Linked DNA regions of Homo sapiens: region 2 is linked to region 1. Evidence: promoter capture Hi-C in human tissues and cell types (Jung and others, 2019). All regions are on one chromosome and are shown on one strand. The core of a region is centred on a gene start or on the middle of the fragment in contact, and the rest is flanking DNA. Distances in the headings are between cores, read along the strand shown.

The links. The method cuts DNA at HindIII sites, captures the fragments that hold promoters and counts their contacts. A contact is called where the count stands out against the background at its distance.
Region 2: a contact is called between a fragment that was not itself captured here and the fragment with the promoter of MKX in region 1, in 1 of the 25 tissues and cell types used here (H1 embryonic stem cells).

What each region holds. Positions count from the first base shown.
Region 1 is chr10:27,744,250-27,747,904 of GRCh38, reverse strand. MKX (mohawk homeobox) reads left to right here and starts at 2,086. Exons shown (of 7, transcript NM_173576.3): 1 at 2,086-2,198. MKX-AS1 (MKX antisense RNA 1) reads right to left here and starts at 3,290. Exons shown (of 2, transcript NR_121652.1): 1 at 2,957-3,290. RefSeq lists an enhancer at 2,005-2,595. The HindIII fragment of the contact is 9,708 bases long and covers 393-3,655 here.
Region 2 is chr10:28,259,355-28,263,009 of GRCh38, reverse strand. The region is part of intron 1 of MPP7 (MAGUK p55 scaffold protein 7); the gene reads left to right. Among named protein-coding and RNA genes, the nearest start is that of MIR8086, 28 kb to the left of the region's middle. The HindIII fragment of the contact is 3,764 bases long and covers 179-3,655 here.

The sequences.
Region 1 (3,655 bases), core at 837-3,336:
TCACTCTTCTTTCATTTTTAAATGGATTTTAATTATTAAATCATAGTCTAAGGGAATTACCATATGTTAATTTTTTAGTGAGTTGAGGCTTACTCAAATGTATTTTATTCCTATATCAAATGAAAAGTATTTTTGCATTAAGATTTTTGCTGTATATTTCATTTCAGACTTTAAGAAAACAAATATTACATGTAAGTATATCTTAAAAGCGCTCTAAATGCATTTTTAAATTGAGTAAATATAGTTAAGTACTAAAACAACAAAATTCATTTGTCCTATACTAACATGTACTATAGCATATAGCTCAAAAAGTTAGTAGAATACTGGGAAATTGCAAGTAACTGTATGATGCCTATTGCTTTACCTGGGACAGCTGACCAAAAAATGTTTCAGGGGTATGTTAGAGCTAATTTCATTACAATTCCCGGTGACTAACACCACTGATAGAGACCATAAAAGAGAAGGTGGCTCTTTTGTCCTATGAATTATCAATTAGATCTGCTTCTGTGGTGAAATTTGTTAGCTGAAAATTGATGGCTGAAACCTTAGGATTTACCCCTGTCTTTAAGCTCCTACAGCGAGGTCTGTAGACCAGAAGCCTGTACTGAACTCACACCACAAGGGCAGCGCCAAAGACAAGATGCAAGCGCTGCAACAGCAAGTTATATAACAAAAGAGAACCGAGGACATCAGAACGTGCTCCAATGATACTTTGTATCTTCCTGGTGCGCAAAAATGTAAACCGGCCTTCCTTTATGGTTTACATTGTACCCCTGCACAACGGTTTGCTATCGCGTAATTTGGGAGGTGACACATATGAAATTTGAGGGTGTGATTAGTCTTTAAAATAATAGTTTTGGTATATATTTTAAGCACTTCTAGCGACCCCCCCAACACACAAACACACACACACACACGCGCACACACACACACACACACGAAGAAGATGCTAAGGTGGGCCACTGCCCCGGCTCTGGCCAGCCGCATTTAGAGGGGAAAAGGACAAATGGCGCTATTTCTTTAAGCTTGGTGGGGGGAAATCTAAGTTTGTTCTTTAAAAAGGGCGAAAGTTCGCTAGGACCACAGGGCCTTCGGCGAGAGCGCAGGCAGCTTCGTGTTGGCACCTTGGGGATCTTCTGGGCTGCCAGAAGCTCTGAGCTTGCAGTTGCACCTAAACCGCCGCTTTCGCTACTTATATTTGCGGTAATGTTAGGAAGCAAAGTATCATCAATCAGAGAATCTGGTAGCCATTCTCTCTCTTTGCCCTGTGTCCCAGCTTGTGATTCTTCTAAGTTCCATCTCCTTTGCTGCGTGCAGATCCTTGGCTTTGGGCGCGCTTCCTCTTCTGCACTTGGGCCACCGCGGGTTGGCCACCTGGGCTGAACTCATCCCATCCTTGCTTTCCCCCATCCCTATACCCAGCGGCGAGGGCAGCCTCACCAGCCCTTGCCCCGGAGGTGAATGTGTGCCTGGCTTTGACTGAGACAACTAGGACCCCAGAAGCCCAGTGACATCAGAAAAGAGGCTCCTGGGCACTAGCACTTCCCGCAATACGCTCCAGGGCTGTAGGTGCAAAACGGAGCTCTAACTTCCCTCCAGCTAATCGAGAGGAAAATACAGGGCGCGTCACAGTGGCCTCTCCCGCCTAGCCACGCGCAGTGAAATTTCCGGCAATCGGGCCAGCTAAGACACGGGATTTGCACCGCAGCCTCTCAGCTTCTGGAGCCGGAGCCGAGCGCTCCCGGCAGCTTCTCCAATTTCTCTCCTAAAGTGCGAAGGGAAAAGCCCCGTCTGCTCCACGACTGCAAGGCCGGCGGATCTGGGAGCCGCGCCCGGCTCCGGAGGACTCGGCGGGCCCGGGGCTCCCCGGCAGCGGCTCCTCTGCTAGGGGTTAACAGCAGCCCCCGCGGCCGGGCGGGCGCGGACGCTTCCTCTCCACCCGCCCGGGAACGTGGATACCGCGCCCGCAGGATGTTCGCCGGCTGGGACCGGCAGTCAGGAAACATGAGAAGGCCTCGCTATTCCTGTTCCCGGGCGGCGCGCGCCGGGCTGGGTAAATAAAGCCGAGACGACGGCGGTGGCGGTGGTGAGCGCGCTGGAGCCCGCGTGGAGAACATGCGGCGGGGATGGGAGTGCGCCTAGTCTCGAGGCGGGAGAGCCAGCCGCCCTGCAGCCGGCCGTCGGCCCCGCAGCCACAGGTACAGCCCCCGCGTCGCCGAGTCTCAGCCGGCTGCGGCGGAACGCCAGGCTCGCTCTGGCCCCTGCGCCCTGGGCGCCGGTGCTCTCCCGCCCTTCCCCCAACTTCCCTCCAAGGTCTGGTGGAGAGGCGCTCGGGTAGCGGCCAAGGCTGGCCCAAGGGTCTGCGCGGAGCTTGGGAGCCCACCTGGCCGCGCCTCCTTTGCTTTAAAATTATTCGCCGGCGTTGGGGGAGGGGGACACTTCTGCAGGGAGTGACCTCCCCGGCCACAGTCTGGAGTGAATCGGGGTAAGTGATTTGAGAAGAGGCGCGGGTGGCCGCGCGCGGGAGTCCTGGGAGGGTCAGCAAGTGTGGTTCACACGCCCCCGGACCCCTTGCGACAGGACAGCGCTCGGACCTTTGCCATCGCTTGCCTCTGAGCCTGCTGCCTGCAGACCTACAGCGCGCCGGGTGTCTGTGTCTGCGATCTCTGCGTGGGCTTGGGGCTGCCGGGGAAGTGTCCGAGGTGGCTAACCTCGTGATGACTTCGCTAGGAAAAACACGTCGTCGCATCTAGGAGGACGCGCTGGGGTGGCTCGGAGAAGGCCGGGCCGGGGAAGGGTGTCTTGTACAAATAAAGCAGCATGAACACACATCCCTAAGGGCATGATTTTAAAAGAAAACACCAACGCGAGTCTTGACTGTAGAACAGGGGCTGCAAGCACGAAAATTCTCTTTGACACTTATCACCGAGGCTATGTGCACACCCCAGGCACGTACCTGTCTGCGCGGGAGGACGCAGTCCTAGGGGACACACGACATCCAGCAGAGGTCTGACTTCACTTCCCTACGAACACAGACCGTAGCCGTCGTTTGATCGCGGTGGTCACGCGTGGTCCTAAATGTCACGCGTGGCCTCTGCTGCGGTGGCCGAAGGGCGGGGCGGGGGCGTTGGCGAGTGTGGGCGCTTGGCGAGGCAAAGGGTGTGTGTGTGTGTGTGTGTGTGTGTGTGTGTGTATGCGCGCGCGCGTGTGTTAGTGGAGTAGCAGCCCATGCCGCGGCTGGACGGGCAAAGGGGGCGCTGGCAGCGAAGCTGAGGCCGCTCGGAGGAAACGGGAGCTGTCCCGAGGCGCGAGGCGAGGAGATGGGGCGGGCGAAGTCCGCCGCGCGCCTTGGGGCTGTAACTCTGCGGCTCCGCGGCCGCGCGGACTTGCTCCTGACGCCGGTGCGCGGCAGGCAGAGGCTCAGGGCCTCCGCGACCCCAGAGGTGAGCTGCTGGCTCTCCCCGACAGTGGCAGCAGTGGCCCGGGAGGTGCGCCGACCAAGCTGCCTCCTGCCTTGGGCTTCTGACACCTTTACAGCCTCTGAAAGGGTCCCCGGAGACCCCAGAGAGAGGCGGGTGTCGAGGGGCTACGAGCTCGCGGCTGACACCCGCGCTGCGGAAGAGAATGGCACTGATTGAGGGCTCTGGGGACCTGG
Region 2 (3,655 bases), core at 811-3,310, 520 kb before region 1:
AACTCAGCTCACTGCAGCCTCCGCCTCCTGGGTTCAAGCGATTCTCGTGCTTCAGCCTCCTGAGTAGCTGGGATTATAGGCACATGCCACCTCTCCTGGCTAATTTTTTTATTTTTAGTAGCGATGGGGTTTCACCATGTTGGTCAGGCTCATGCCTAACTCCTGACCTCAAATGATCTGCCCACCTCGGCCTCCCAAAGTGCTGGGATTACAGGCGTGAGCCACTGCGTCCGGCTAAATGTGAGATTTAGCATTGTATTAGTCTCCTCAAGCCACTCAAGTAAGAGTTCCTGAGCTGTGTACATGATTGGACTTTAGAGTCTAATGAATGTACAACCTGTTTAGAATAGGTGCAGCTTTTTGTGTAACTAGCGAATGTTTCTTAGGAAAGAAAGGATCCATAGTTTTCATCAGATTAAAAAATGTCTGTGGCTTCCAAAGGGCCAAAGGCCATTTATACTAGAGTATTATTTATGACACCTGTGTAGTAACCTAAAATATTTGTGACAACTTTTTAAAAGGACTTGCAGTTACTGGCTTAATGCATTGTGCCTCTTTGGGATATACTGTTAGTTTCATTATAAATTACTAGTTCAGTCAAAAATTATATTATTGGCTGGGCATGGTGGCTCACACCTGTAATCCCAGCACTTTGGGAGGCCGAGGCCGGTGGATCACAAGGTCAGGAGAGCGAGACCATCCTGGCCAACATGGTGAAGAAAAAAAAAAAAATATATATATATATATATACATATATATATATATGTATATATATATATATATGTATATATATATATATATGTATATATATATATATATATATAATTTATTTATTTATTTATTTCCTTTTTCTTTTTTTTGAGACAGAGTCTTGCTCTGTCGCCCAGGCTGGAGTGCAGTGGTGCATTCTCAGCTCACTGCAACCTCTGGTCCCAAGTTCAAGCGATTCTCCTGCCTCAGCCTCCTGAGTAGCTGGGACTACAGGTGTGCGCCACCATGCCCGGCTAATTTTTTGTATTTTTAGTAGAGATGGGGTTTCACCATGTTGGCCAGGCTGGTCTTGAACTCTTGACCTCAAGCAATCCACCCACCTCGGCCTCCCAAAGTGCTGGGATTACAGGTGTGAGCCATAATGGGGTCTTGTTATGTTGCCCAAGCTGGTCTCGAGCTCCTGGGCTCAAGCAATCCTCCTGCCTCGGCCTCCCAAAGTGTTGAGGTTACAGACATGAGCCATTGGCACCTGGCCAAAAATTATAAATGGAGAGATAGAAAGTGAGATAAACCGGTCTCTCTCTCAGGATAGAGAAATGTATTTGTGAGTATATTGTATGATCAGTTTCTTGTACTACATTGGAGGGTGTTCTACGTCATTGTCATTGGGGTGTGTCTGATATCCACACTCTGTGTACTCTGGGGTCACCTGATGGAGAAGGCTGTGCTGCCTAGGTATGTATTTGGAGGTCAGCAGAAGAGTGGAGGTGTTGCAACCTTGGATAAGTACTGTGGCTTTCTCTGCTGTCCCACTTATGACCACATTTAGGATAGAATGGCAGGGACAATGGTTTGCCTCGCTTAAATCTTAGTGGAACTATGGTGACTGCGCTGGATCTGGTCTTTGACTCATTTCAATATAAAAAGCACTGGCCAGTGGAGCGCAAAGCCACCGTGTTGGTGGGAAGTATGTTTGTGATAAACACCATAGGGTTCCACCCCAGTGAATGACTTGGGCAGTCTTTCGTTAAGTCATGGTTCAGTGTTCTGCTCACCTTGCTAGGAAGGAAAGTGTTCACAGTTAATTCTGTGTTTTCTCACCTGTGTGTAGGATCTACTTTTGCTAACAAGCATACATCACTGCCAAAATGGTTAATTCTGGAAAGAGAACTACAGAGACAAAGTATATAAAGAGCAATTTTTCTTAGTTGAAAGATTAAAGATAATTGATTGAATTGGGGACCCATCTGGCTTTGTGATTTGCTGGAGTGACTTATGAAAACTAATTGCTTTGGTAAAGAACTAGGCTATTAAAGAATAAATTTTATAGTGTAATTTTGTAGGCACCTTACATACTTGGAAAAACCATTTGAATTCTTTCTCTAACATCAATTGGGCATAAAATAAATCAACTCACACTGAGTTGAAATGCATCATGTAGAAAACAGAGCCTTTTCACTTTCACTTTAAATTGTGCCAGAAGAAACATGCTATTTAAAAAAAATTTTTTTTTTTTTTTTTTTTTTTTTGAGATGGAGTCTCTCTGTTACCCAAGCTGGAGTGCAGCAGCACAATCTTGGCTCACTGCAACCTCCGCCTCCTAGGTTCGAGCGATTCTCCTGTCTCAGCCTCTTGAGTAGGTGGCACTACAGGCATGTGCCACCATGTCTGGCTAATTTTTGTATTTTTAGTAGAGACAGGGTTTTGCCCTGTTGGTCAGGCTGGTCTCATTCCTGACCTCAGGTGATCCGCCCACCTTGGCCTCCTAAAGTGTTGGGATTACAGGCATGAGCCACCATGCCTGGCCAGAAACATACTATTTGGTTAGAACATAGTTAAATATAGTCTCTGGTATTTTCATATGTTTTAGATTTCTTTATCTTGACAAGTGATTGAAGGAAAGAACCATTTATAGTCTGTAGGTATAAGGAAGCTTTGTATAACTGCTTCAGATCATTAACTAATGCATACATATAGACTAATACATAATATAATACATAGATCATTTATAGAGAGCCAGGGAGACTGGAATGGATGAATTGCCACTGGAAATGATTGAATACTTTTTAGATAATTAAGCATGTATTAATTAACAAGTAGAAAGAGGGATGGACTCAAATATGTCGATGATGATAATGCCATAAAATTATTGTAACAGTATTTATAAATAGCTGCTAATATAGTGTTTTCTGTGTTTTTGTTTGTTTTGTTAAATATCAATGTTTCCTAAGTATGGACATGCAGGGTTATTTCTGAAGTATTCTAATGAAGAGTTTTTGTTTTAAGCACTATGCTTTTCTTGTTATGGGGGACAGAGTGACAGACTCTTGCTCTGTCACCCAGGCTGGAGTGCAGTGGCACAATCATGGCTCACTGCAGCCTTGACTTCCTGGACTCAGGTGATCCTCCCACCTCAGCCTCCTGAGCAGTTGGCATTACAGGGGCACACCACCGTGCCTGGCTAATTTTTTGTATTTTTTTGTAGAGATGGGATTTTGTCATGTTGCCCACGCTCTGGCCTAGAACTCCTGGGCTCAAGCGATTCTCCCACCTCAGCCTCCCAAAGTACTGGGATTCCAGGCATGAGCCACTGCACCTGCCCATATGCTTTTATTTTCATGCATATTAGAAAACATAACTAACTCATCTCCTGCCTCCCTGCATCCTTCTCTTCTCTCCCCTCCCCCTCCCCTCATCTTTTTCTTTTTCTTTTTGATGGAGTCTCTCTCTGTCACCCAGGCTGGAGTGCAGTGGTGCAATCTCGGCTCACTGCAGTGGTTCAGTCCCACCTCCTGGGCTCAAGTGATTCTCCCTCCTCAGCCTCACAAGTAGCTGGGACTACAGGCGTGCACCATGACGCCTGGCTAATTTTTTGTATTTTTATCAGAGACAGGGTTTCACCATGTTGCCCAGGCTGGTCTCGAACTCTTGAGCTCAAGCAATC